Regions from separate parts of the Homo sapiens genome. Here all the other regions are linked to region 2. Evidence: promoter capture Hi-C in human tissues and cell types (Jung and others, 2019). All regions are on one chromosome and are shown on one strand. Each heading gives the region's core, a stretch centred on a gene start or on the middle of the fragment in contact. The rest is flanking DNA. Distances are from core to core; before and after follow the strand shown.

Evidence for each region. Contacts are between HindIII fragments. The study calls those that stand out against the background at their distance.
Region 1: a fragment that was not itself captured here is called in contact with the fragment with the promoter of PHF12 in region 2 in 1 of the 25 tissues and cell types used here (hippocampus).
Region 3: a fragment that was not itself captured here is called in contact with the fragment with the promoter of PHF12 in region 2 in 1 of the 25 tissues and cell types used here (dorsolateral prefrontal cortex).

Annotation. Positions count from the first base shown.
Region 1 is chr17:28,809,913-28,813,899 of GRCh38, forward strand. All of the region lies in intron 1 of FAM222B (family with sequence similarity 222 member B), which reads right to left. Among named protein-coding and RNA genes, the nearest start is that of FAM222B, 31 kb to the right of the region's middle. RefSeq lists an enhancer at 2,130-2,772 and a silencer at 2,298-2,587. The HindIII fragment of the contact is 5,142 bases long and covers 1-3,987 here.
Region 2 is chr17:28,949,324-28,953,548 of GRCh38, forward strand. PHF12 (PHD finger protein 12) reads right to left here and starts at 2,195. Exons shown (of 15, transcript NM_001033561.2): 1 at 1,572-2,195; 2 at 742-923. The coding sequence starts at 1,637. It overlaps LOC105371716 (a long non-coding RNA gene), which reads left to right and starts at 2,279. Exons shown (of 5, transcript XR_001752822.2): 1 at 2,279-4,085. RefSeq lists enhancers at 1-76, 77-696, 2,437-2,486, 2,587-2,996, 2,698-3,319 and silencers at 227-486, 1,997-2,266. The HindIII fragment of the contact is 9,214 bases long and covers 1-4,225 here.
Region 3 is chr17:29,129,003-29,133,099 of GRCh38, forward strand. All of the region lies in intron 2 of MYO18A (myosin XVIIIA), which reads right to left. Among named protein-coding and RNA genes, the nearest start is that of MYO18A, 49 kb to the right of the region's middle. RefSeq lists an enhancer at 4,089-4,097. The HindIII fragment of the contact is 7,003 bases long and covers 1-4,097 here.

The DNA of each region.
Region 1 (3,987 bases), core at 1,228-3,727, 140 kb before region 2:
ACCCAGATATCAAATAGAAGGGCAAACTTGTTTTTTGACAGAAGCAAGTTGAAATTGTACAGCCTCCAACTGGTTTTTTTTTGTTTTTGTTTTTGTTTTTTTGAGACAGGGTCTCACTGTGTCACCCAGGTTGGAGTGCAGTGGTACAACCTTGGCTCACTGCAACCTCTGCCTCCCGGGTTCCAGCAATTCTCCCACCTCAGCCTCCCAAGCAGCTGGGACTACAGGAGTGCACCACCACGCCCAGCTAATTTTTTTATGTTTTGGTAGAGACGGGGTTTTCACCATGTTGGTCTTTAACTTCTGACTTCAAGTGATCCACCCACCTCAGCCTCCCAAAGTGCTGGGATTACAGGAGCAAGCCATTGCACCCCGCCTTCCAACTGGTTTTTTTGGTCACTTCCCCAGCTTCCTATACCTTAGATATCAAAGTGCACTTTGTTTTATATACTAGCTAACTCTGTTTTATATACTAGCTAACTTTGTTTTATATACTAGCTAACTTTGTTTTACATACTAGCTAACTCTGTTTTATATACTAGCTAACTTTGTTTTATATACTAGCTAACTTTGTTTTATATACTAGCTAACTTTGTTTTATATACTAGCTAACTCTGTTTTATATACTAGCTAACTGTAAAGGCTTCAATCAGTGATTTTTAACAGTTCACTCTCAGTAGCAAGTTAACTAGTCAACATCTGGGGGATCCCCTTTCCCTCCCAATTTAAATACAACTCATGGAGCCTTAAGGGACAAGTGAGTAATAAAAACCCAAAACCTGACACAGGATTACTGTGAATCTACTTTTTAGTAACATGTCTATTCTAAGGTATTTGAAATCTTCTTTTTAAAAAAGGTAAAGTAAGCTTCGTAATCCCTATTACTTTCCACAGCTGAAATGGTTTCCTATCCCATTATCCCTATTTTTTATAATACTTGCTTTCATCCCAAATTGCTCCTAATTGTCTAGAGATCTAATAAATCAATGCAAAGAAAAAAATCACTAATCTAGCCAAAAGTGTAAGACAGCTCCAGTGTATCAATTCTGTCTTCAAAAGTGGACCCCAGTTACAACAATCGTGGGAAACTGAACCTGTATTACATAAACTCTGAACCATTTTAATTAATATTTATCAAAGTGTTGCCAAAAAAAAAAATATTCATCCCTTTTGGTACTGTAGCTCTTTGCTAATCAACATTAAGATAAACCTGCTCCAAACACGTTTCGTTGAAAATGCCCATTTAGGCCAGGCGCGGTGGCTCACGCCTGTAATCCCAGCACTTTGGGAGGCCGAGGCGGGTGGATCACGAGGTCAGGATATCAAGACCATCCTGGCTAACACGGTGAAACCCGGTCACTACTAAAAATACAAAAAATTAGCCAGGTGTGGTGGCAGGCGCCTGTAATCCCAGCTACTCAGGAGGCTAAGACAGGGGAATCGCTTGAACCCTGGAGGCAGAGGTTGCAGTGAGCCGAGATCGCGCCACTGCACTCCAGCCTGGGCAACAGAGCGAGACTCGTCTCAAAAAACAAAAACAAAAACAAAAAAACCCCCACGAACTAAAATACATCTGGAGGTTTGTTTTTTTAAGTTTGGTTTTGGTTTTTGACGATAGAAACTACTCCCTCCGAGGGTCTGTGAATATAAGAAATATACCAACAGAGAAAAAGATAAGACTTTTAAGTTTCAGCAACAGCAAGGTAAGTTTGCCTGCTCTAGTCAGGTTTCTCCAACAGAGATGAGCTACTACACAAAGCCGGTGACAATGTACTCCAGGAAGAGACTTTAGCAGAGTTAATCACTAACAACTATCAGGATTTCCTTTAACCACCATTTGACTGGGGCTGCTCCCTCTTTCCACTAGCACCTCCTCTCCTTTCAGATTGTTATTGCTGATCAAGGCAGTCCCAAGGAGGAAAATGGTGAAGACAACCTTAATGGACACGCATGGAGTACAGTTCCAAATATCCACTCCTAGCTTGCCTTTTCTTTTTTTTAAATTACGGTTTACTGCATCAGATACCACACAAAAAAGGGCTCCTCTTTTCTTCTCTGTGCATTTTACTATGCGACCGATATCGACACATCAGTAAAAAGAGATAAGAGTCCTGAATCTCCTTACCCATCTGCAGGGGTGAGATGAAGGGAAGGAAAAAAAATGATGAAGGGTAGAAACAGATAATCAAAATAAACTGATGCGATCCAGAGACATTATTTCCCGTTCCATTTCCCCTTTTCTTACAAGGTTAAGTCGGCTGAAGTCGGGGTCGCGTTAGAAAAAGCACACACACACCTTGCGCCCTGGAAAGGTGAGGTTCGCTCCGCAGCGCTCCGTGGGGCTCCTGGCTCCGCCCCGCCCGCCTTGGGCAGCTGAGCCCAGCTCACCCCCGCCCCGGGAGGATGGAAGAGAGGGGGCTTCTAGCGGTCTAGGCAGGGGGAGGGGGAGGCGGCTGCTCCGGGTGCCAGGCTCACGGAGCGCAGGACTCCGCGGTGCGCCGACACCCCCTCCCCCAGCCGGCTGCCGCTTGCTCCCAGCCGCCGCCGGAAGCCAGCCCCGCCCCCTCACCTCCACCCTGGCTCTTCGCGAGCCCTCTCCTGTCTGCACAGCCAATGGCGAGCCAGGGAGCCAGCAGAGCGACTCGCCAAACAGCCAACTGGGGAGGCCCACAGGGAGGTCAGCCACCGGGATAGGCCCGCTACCCGCGGACCCGGCCCGACTCGGCTCCTCTTTGTTAGCGCTGCCCCCATCTCTCCCGGCCCCTACCCCAAAGCCAGGAGCCAAGCATCCCGTAGCTGGGCCAGGTGAAGCTGCGCCCCTTTGCACCCCTTCTCCCTCTGTCCCCTTGTCCCCTCCCACTTTCTGCCTGGGTACTAGGAGACCCCCCCCCACCCACGCGATACCTCCCAGAGTGCCTCAGACTTCAACAGCAATTGCCACCTGGAGACACTCGACAGTAAAAAGATGCTCCCCAAGCCTCTCTGCCTCTAGTCTAATCAACTGCACTGCACTGTAACAGTGGACGGATTTAGGATTGCATATTAAATCAACTGCACACATCAATCCTCCCTGTCGGAAACTCGTGCTTCCCGTGACGCAGAAATTAAGCGGGGGGGGGGGGGGGGGGGAGGGGGGGGCGTTGGAGGCATGTTGGGAAAGTATGTATCTAGAAGTTGGTGGGGTGGAGAAGGGAATACATGAAATCATCAGACACAAAAAAAAAAAAAACACACACATACAAAAAAAAAAAACACACATAGTTGGCTCCAACCTGTTTCAGATACAAAACATCCAATGTATTTAGCTGGATGTATCCAATCCAGTTAAATCCCAAGATAACAATTCCTTTAGCAGGTTTCAGTACAATTAGGAAGCAAACACCTAATCCTTGTTCAGTCATATACCTAATATTATGGGGAACATACTCTCAGCAACCAGACTGGAGGAGACTAAGACAACATGAAAAATAAATGCAATGTGTGATTCTGACCTGGATCCTTTTTGCTATAAAGTATATAACTGGTATAATAATAAGCAACAGTTGAAGAGGATCTGATAATTATATGGAAGTAATGTGTCAATGTTACTTTCCTGATTTTGACAGTTGTTTCTTTTTTTTTTGTTTTTTTTGGAGACGGAGTCTCGCTCTGTTGCCCAGGCTGGAGTGCAGTGGCGAGATCTTGGCTCACTGCAAGCTCCGCCTCCCAGGTTCATGCCATTCTCCTGCCTGAGCCTCCCAAGTAGCTGGAGTAGCTGGGACTACAGGTGGCCGCCATCACGCCCAGCTAATTTTTTTTTTTTTTTTGTATTTTTTAGTAGAGACGGGGTTTCACTGTGTTAGCCAGGACGGTCTCGATCTCCTGACGTCGTGATCCGCCCGCCTCGGCCTTCCAAAGTGCTGGTATTACAGGCGTCAGCCACCGCGCCCGGCATGGAATAGGACATTTTAAACACTGTGGTATATTTTCTGGGGTGTAGTGATAGAG
Region 2 (4,225 bases), core at 945-3,444:
AGGAAGGAAGGCAGCTCTGAGAGGCAACAGGGGGCAAGCGGAGGCAGAGAAAGGGGATCAAAGCGGCGAGATCCCAGACGGGGCCCCCGAGGAGCTTCTGCAGAAAGGACTCTGGGGCTGTCCCCACCGTTCCCCCGAGAGACGTTTGCAAATCATATATGCAGCCAAAATGGCGCTGAGAATAAAAATATAATTTAAAGGCAGGTCGCCATATTGTAAACAGAGAGGCAAAGAAGAGGCGGACTCGAGAGACACCCTCCACGATTTTTTCTACAGCCACAAGCGCCCGGTTGCCGGGGTCTGGACCAGGGCAACTCAGGTGGCCGAGGGCTCCACGCACCCACCCCGAGGAGATCCCGGCCGGGCAGGAGCCCCGAGGGCAGCGGGCGCGCGGGCAGGCAAGCGGCACTGGGCCCGGAGCTCCTCCCCTTCCTCCCCCGCCACTGCCGGCTGTCCCCGGCCGGCTCTGTCCCGGCTCCCCAGCGACTTCCAATCCCATATGGGGTTCTCTTCACTCGTCCCAACCCCCACCTCGGGGTCCGGACCCACCGCTGCTCCTCCCCGCTAAACTGCCAGAACCCGGCGGACACCTGGGGGCGGGGAGGTGCTCGCCCCGGCAGCTGCAGAAAGTCAGCTAGCGGCTGCAAGCGCCCGTTATTTCGGCAGTCAGGGGCAGGCCGGGTGAAGGAATGCGCAGAGAAGGGTCCGCCAAGAAGCTCCAAAAGGGTCCCCAGACCTTACCAGCACTGGAGGTGGAAGGCAGCCGGGCAGTGGTCGCAGCACAGGAGATCTCCACCTTCCTTGCAGCTATCGCAGCTGTCGTGGTTGGTGGCCCTGCCGCTTCTCCGGGGCTCCTTCTCAGGCTTCCGACTGCGCTTTTCTGCCTCGTCCGTCTTGGGGGGAGCCAGCAGAGCTTGGATTTGCTGCACACACATACAAACGGCGTGTGTGCACACTCGGAGCTCCCGGGCGGTCCGTCGCCCCCCCGGCGCGGTTTCTCCGTCACCCACCCCTCTCCCCCCTTTTGTCCTTCTTCCTCCCATCCAGGCTGCTCCCAGAATCTCTCAGCCCCCGGAACCAGGGGGAGCCCACCCTAACCGCGTTCCTGCAGCACAACAACGAGAACAGCTTCTTCCAAATGGGGAGGATCAAGGGTAGGGGGATGGGAAGAGGGTGCGCGGTTCCCTTCTTGCCACTTCCTTGTATGGACAGTGGGGGACTCCAAAGACCCGCTCGGGAGAGGCCCAAAGCCCGGTACCCGGACGTGCTGGGGGAAGCACAAAGGGGCCAACAAGAAGGGGGTGGGGAGGCCTGCCGGTGCAACGAGATGGAGTGGGCTGGCGCCTCGGGAGAGCGAATCGAGGGCGGCGGGTAGGTGAAACTGCTGCAAACGTCCTCGGAGGCTGAGCTCAGCCCCCTAAATTGCAAAGAGGGGAGGGAGAGGCTAGGTGAGGAAGAATCCCCCTCCCTCGGCCATCTAGGCGCTTCGAGTTTAGGACTGGCTTTGTGGGGCGGAGGGCGGAGGTTCCCTCCCGGCGCTGGAGGAAGGAGATGAGGAGGGCCACTCTTACCTCCATCAGCCCCCCTGATGTGTCCAAGTCGTACACGATCGTCTTGGTCTCCATTTTCTCCCACATTCATCCACCTCCCGGGCTGGGTGCTCTCTGCTCCGGCCCCCCCAACCCCGGGGGGAGGGGGGAGGTGAGGGGAGGGGGCGCTCCTGACCCCGGCCCCGCTTTTTTCCCAATACGGGTCCCGACTTCCTCGCCCTGGCTCCCCCCCACCCCCCGGCCCCCAGTCCCCGGGACGACAGCGTCCTCCCGACGGGCCGCGAGGGGGGAGCGGCCCCTCAGTCCCGGCCCGGCTGCTGGCTGCACAGTGGGTCCCGGCTCCGGGGGTCAGGCCTCGGCGGGGCCTAGTCCCACAGGCTAAAGCCGGCACTGGCGACAGCCGGTCCGGCCGGGAAGGCTGGCGGGCGCTGCCATCCCGGGGCTGGGGGTATCGGAGGGGGGGTGAGAGGTTACGTGAGGTTGTGGTACGTGAGGTGACTGGGGGGAGGGTGATGGGGGGTGGTCCCCGGGCTCCGCCTCTCGCCGCCGCCGCCGTCTGCGTCCCGGCTGCCGCGCACTTGGCGCAAACTTACCGCGAGCGCCCGCAAAGCCACCCGCGCAGGCGCCCCGGGATCGGCGCTCGCCGCGCGCAACCGCAGTGACAGCCGGCGGCCTGGCTCCCGCGCAGCCGCGGTGAGGGAGTACCCCCCAGCGCGCAGCCGCGCTGGCATTCGTCTGGAGGACCGAAGCCCCACCTTTCTGCCCTGCGCCAGCGCACTGAGACAAAAGGGCGGGACCTGAGGTCTCGCGCAGGCGCTTGAGAAAGCTTGTAGGGGTCAAGGCGCAGCCGCAGGAAGCTAGGGACTGTTCATCCATTGGTGTTTGTGTGCAAACTAAGACGACTCTGTTCTGCGCAGGCGTGTTGGGGGTGCTCCCCCTTCCTCTCCATAACACAGACGCCTCCCGCGCAGGCGTATTGCCTTCCGCAGGCCCTCACAAGAAAGCTGCTCCTTTCGCCATTTTGGTAATGGGATATGGGCTATCATGCCCTTGGAGTCCTCAGGCATGAACAGAAAGGAGCAAGGTGTGGTGTTGGATGGAGCTGGTCGCCTGTCGGTGACAGCAGTATTCCTAGGGATGTTGTACTTGACCGTTTGGTTCTACCATCGGGTGTGGCTGGACCAGGCCACCATATTGGTAAAGAGAAAAGCCATTTGAGACAGAAAATGACGCTTTTGGAGGCGTGTGGGATGACTGTGGTTCCTAATTCTCTCCCGCTCCTGACAGATAATTTTATCAGTTAATTGTATCCTCAGCATCCCTGCCTTGCGTGGTGGTGGCACTGGAGAGTTCCGCCTGCCCGTTACCACCCTCTCTTCACCACTGTCCCTGAGATCTGCTCTTCAAGAGGAAGCCTAAAGTGGAGAGTTTGTAATCCTGACAACGCCCAGCTACCTGCGTACCCCGGACTCCAACTCCCAGTTTGCAACGCCAAAGGGTCTAAAGGGCGAACGGGGGCGCATTGCATCCTGGGAGCAAGAATCGCGATAGGTCTGATGGATTGTGGGAACTGTAGTTCCATGTGCGTGCGATGCACTCTATGGTAGGATAGACCCGGGGAAGAGTCATTTGCCGGCCAGGAAGGGATACTTTTGAGAGCGTCAGTGCTGCATGCCGGGATTTGTAGTCTGAGGGCCCGCCTCGCATTCTGGGCGGGGATTCATGCTCCTTTTCAGGGCGCCCGCTCCTCCCCTTGGTATTGCCGTCAGAGATGGGCGGTTGGTTATTGCTGCCTGATGGTGGATGAAGCAGTGGAAAAGAGAATTGTATCGTTGTGCTTGACACTAGGGGTTTAGTTGGAATTGTTGCTTCGTAGCTGTGCTCGGCCCACTTTTAATGTTAAGGGACACAGCATTCTCAGAGTCGTCAAACTAGCAAGGGTTTAGAGACCATCTGATTTAATCCCCTCTTTTCCAGATGCACAGGGAGGCGCAGTGATTTGCCTAGGTCACATAGTGCATTTATGGCAGACCTAAGAATTGGATTTCTTGATTCTCAAGCCAGACACTGTCCATTACACTATGTCGACTGTGTCTAAGGAATTACTATGCTTGCTTTGGGGACAGTAAGGAGGATGAGTTAGACAGAGTGGGGATGTCAGTGTATGGAGTCTTAGGTTTCTGTTTTCCTGACTTTTCGCTTTTCTGATGACCCTCTTGGTGCCTGGAAAGAATGATAAGGTCATGGATGGTGGGGTGGAGAATGTCATGTGAATTGGCTGCCCTCTGCTTTCTACCATTCTGAGCCAACAATAAACTTCAGGAGCTGTGGACCAGAGATGTGGCCATCAGAGAGGGGAGGGCTGAGCTAGATTGTTTGTATGAAAGAGGCAAGATTTTCTATCTCCTATGGCTATATTTTATGTCACAGGCTCTCAGAGTTTAGAACCTCATGTGCCCTCTCTCTTTGGCTTTTTTTCCTACTGCTCAGGGCCCAGCTGTGCTGCTGTGTTAACCTGGAGGCATTATGGAACAGGTAAGTAAGCCATTGGCATCCATCCACTGGACAAGGCTTTGCTTTGATCAACACCATCAATTGCAGCTGATAATAGGAACTATGGGCTAATGAGGGAAATAAGACTTGGCTCTGTTGACAAGAGCCAGGGAAACTTCACA
Region 3 (4,097 bases), core at 1,256-3,755, 180 kb after region 2:
CCCACCTCCATTCCTACCACCAATCCCAGGCCTAACTCCAGGGCGTCCTGACCTTTGTAGTCCTTGGTCCTTCCATCACCTGTTTTCCGGGCAGTCAGACCAAGAGCCTACCCATCCTGAAGGAAAAAATGATCAGGGAGCTCTTCCTGGCCCCAAGACATGCCAGGCCTCCTCCTCACAGCGTCCCTCGTCTGCGGCCACTGTCTGCCCTTCATCTATGTTCTCAAGCACTGAGGAGCCCAGCACGGGCCAGGAAGCTTCCACTTCAGCCTGCTTTCTGCCAGTCTCCTTGCAGTTTTCCTCCTGCAAACCTCTCAAGGGTTTGGAGACCCCCTAGTTCCCAGAGTGTGTATAGCCCTCAAGCAGCCTCAGCTCCAATCTTCCCTGGAGTGGACTGGTATACTCTAGCTGGTGTGCCCACCCTTCCCCCACACACTGGTGCTAACTGTCTGGGTCCCAAGGGACTGCCACTGGAAGGCCAGGCTGGCTAACGGCAGGATAGAGTTTCCCATAAAGCCAGCTCCATTGCCTGGGGAGCGTAAGGGCAACCTGGGTTCTCCTTGTTGGCCAAGCAGAGCTCTGTCACCAGCTGAGCTGTGCTTGAGTCCTTGTTACCCAAAACAATGATCTTGGTTCTAGAACACATATGGGCACTGGGCTCCGTGAAGGCCCACCTGCCCATGCTTGCTTGGATGCAGGAAGACGCTCACAGTAGGCGCACCTGGGAGCTGCTGCCTCTGGATGCCACAAGGAGAAGTTGCTCCACCTTTTGAGCAGAGCTGAGCCAAGGGCCTTAATCTAGGCCCTGGTTACAGGTTGGCTCCGCTGAAGGGATAGAGAGAGTAAGGGCTTGAAGGTGCCTCTTCCTCAACCTCTTAGGCCAAGAGTGCTCAATGGCATGCCAGGGCACTGCAGAGTTGGCCAGTGGCCCTAGCCACTGGATCCTACACTCCTCCCCTCCCTCTTCTGGCTTTCCTCCCATCCCCCTTCCATCATTAAGATGATGACGATGGGCCAGGTGTGGTGGCTCACGCCTGTAATCCTAGCACTTTGCGAGGCCAAGGCAGGGAGACTGCTTGAACTCAGGAGTTCAACACCAGCCTGGGCAACATGGTGAAACTGTTTCTACAAAAAATACAAAAAGTAGCCAGGCTTGATGGTGTGTGCCTATAGTCCCAGCTACGCTACTCAGGAGGCTGAGGTGGGAGGATGGCTTGAGCCTGGGAGGCAGAGGTTGCAATGAGCTGAGATGGCACCACTGCATTCCAGCCTGGGTGACAGAGTAAAACCCTGTCTCAAAAAAAAAAAAAAAAAAAAAAAAGAAAAGAAAATGATGACAATGATGATGATAGTAATTGGTAAGACTTACACAGTACTCACTATGGGCCATGGCACTCTTCCAAGCACTTTACATGTAGTTTTTGCAAAAAAAATAAAATAAAATAAATTCTGGGCAACTCTGAGGCCTCTCCCACACACACACACACACACACACACACACACACACACACACACACACACACACAACCCTTTCAAATCACAGGCTGGCTTTCCAGGATTGTTTGCAGATCAGGTGGAAGCCACAGTGCCTGGCTAATCAAACTGACCAAGGAAGTGCAGGGAGCCAGGACAGGCACCATCTGGGGTAATGAAGTAAGAATATGTGTTGTGATCCAGCTCTGCCCCAGAGCCCTGGGCACTCCTGCCCCCTGTGCTACCAGCTGCCCTCTCCTAACTACACATCTTTGGACTTGGCTATTCAGAAACCTAAGGCTATTCTTGCCTTAGGAGAGTCCAGGTTTATTCAGGGTCTCTATCCCAATGCGCTGGGGCTGGAGGCAGTGAGTAGCTGGAGCCTGCCTCCAGGTCACCTGCACCAAGCAGCTGACAGGGTCTTGGAAGAGACAGCAGCGACTACAGTGAAGTCCCTCCATGCCTTTGCCTTGTGCCACCCAGAGCAGGCTGAAGAATCCCAACAGCTGAGCTCTCATTCGACGCTCCCTGACCTAAGAGTTTGCCCACCCAAGCCTCTCCAGGCCCAAAGGGTTCAGGAAACCAGAACCAAAGGGAGGCAACTTAAGGGGATTGGGGAGGAGGTTAGGGGAGGTCCCCAAAGCACCTTGGCCATCTCCTTCACACACCTGAAGCTGGCATCACATACACCGTACTTTCTTCCCCTTTACTAGAATTCTCTTCAGCTGAGCCACACAGGAAGGGGCCCCCTGCAATCCCCACCTACTCCATGGAGCTGTCTCACAGGCTAGTCCAGGGCTAGTGGGTGCAGGGGCAAACACACACACGCACACACACATGCACGCATGCACACACACATGCCCGCACACACACACGCATGCCTCGGAGAACTCAAGGATGCACTTACAGCCCCTTCCTCCTTGCCAGGAGAGCCAGGCTTTGGCAGAGTTTTGTCCTCCTCTTTAACCTGAGGGAGCAGATGAAGAAGTCACTGGCAGGTCAAGGCTGGGAGACCCAGCACTAAAAGCACAGGGAGAGAACATTCAAGGGGCCTCCCTCACCCTGAGGTGGAGCTCCTGAGTCTTTAGGAATACCGGGGCTAGGGGACCTGGGCAAGAGCTATCCTATCCTAGAATCAGAACTGTTCAGTGATGACTTCAAGAATGAAGAGTCTGTGGGGGAAAAAGCCAAGTACCCTTGCCCTCAGCAACCAGCCACTTTGCCCACTTTGGGGGCTGTCTAAAGAGGTCCACCCACAGTGCCATCGTGGCTTTGGTTACGTGGCAGATGGGAAGATCCAGCTAATTTAACTCATCCAAACTACAAGAGTCATCCCTAGCTCAGGCAAGAAGTGGTTTGAACAAAAAGCCCCAGATCTAGTGACTGAGGAGGTAAAAGTAACCCAGTGTGGGTACCTGTGGGCCAGCAGCTTTTAGAGTAGAGTGAAGGTTGGCCCCTACTGGGCTGGCTCTGGCTTACTTCTTGATCCTGCACAACTCCCCCAGCTCAGCTGAGATCTTGCTGGAGGCAGGGAGTGGGGCAGAGGCGGAGATTCAGGAGGCCAGATATTTTCTCAACCTCAGACCCACAAAACTGCCAACCACGCAGCCGAGGGAGGGAACCCTGAAGTTAGGGGCGGGGTATGGAGGAAGGAAAGATGCCTAAGCTCTGGACACTGGGGCCAGGGGTTTGTGCTGGAGCCCAGGAGCTGGCTGGCCTGAGTCAGAGGGGAGGAGTGGAGTCGTGGAAACAGCAGATACCATCACACATCTGGAAAAAGGGCAGATGATGTGGAAGCTCTGAAGGTTCTTTCAGTTCAGAAACTGGCTCACAACAGATTCAGAGAGGCCAGGCCTCAAGTTTTAAAAAGTCTTCTCCTTTCCCCTCACCAGTATCTCTCCCTCCAAAAGCTCAGGCAGTCCTATGGATTTAATTTCTCCTCTTTCCCGCGTCACCTAGGACTACAGGAAAAAGACAGCCCTGTTACCAACCCTACCTCCTCCTCAGCGTGCCTCTCCTTCCCAGCACAATGTGGGTAGGAGCATGGCAAGAAGTCCTTGATTCCTAAGGGAAAAAATCTTTAGAAACATCCAGAATCATTTACATGATCCACTTGGGGGGACTCTCCAATTTTAACCAGGGTCTGTGGCTAATTTTGAGCTCAAATTAGCAGTGCCAGGGGCACTGGCTGGCGTGATGGCTGCTGCAGTTTTAAAGCTGCATCTTGTCCACAGAGCTATCTGCAACGGGCTCAATCTTCATAGTTAGCTCACAATGCCAAGGACGAGGGGAAATGGCAAATATTCACCAGAGTGGAGCCTACTTCTTTAAGAATTGGAATCGGAGCAGAGAAAGGGAAGGGAGGGACTGGTGGACAGAGGGAGGAAGAGTGGCAGGGTCTAGGTCTGTGCCTGCTGCCCCCCACCAAGCCATCACTCTCCCCCTTGCTGCCCCAGGGATCACACCATGCAGTAGTTCTGGGGCACACAGGTTAGTGGGAGGACAAGTGTTCGCAAACCACACAGACACACTCATTACTGCACGCAGTGCTGTTAACTTGGGTGCCGGGGTGGCCCAGATTCCAAGTCCACTCTGTGTTCTTCACCAGCTCCAAATCTGTCCTC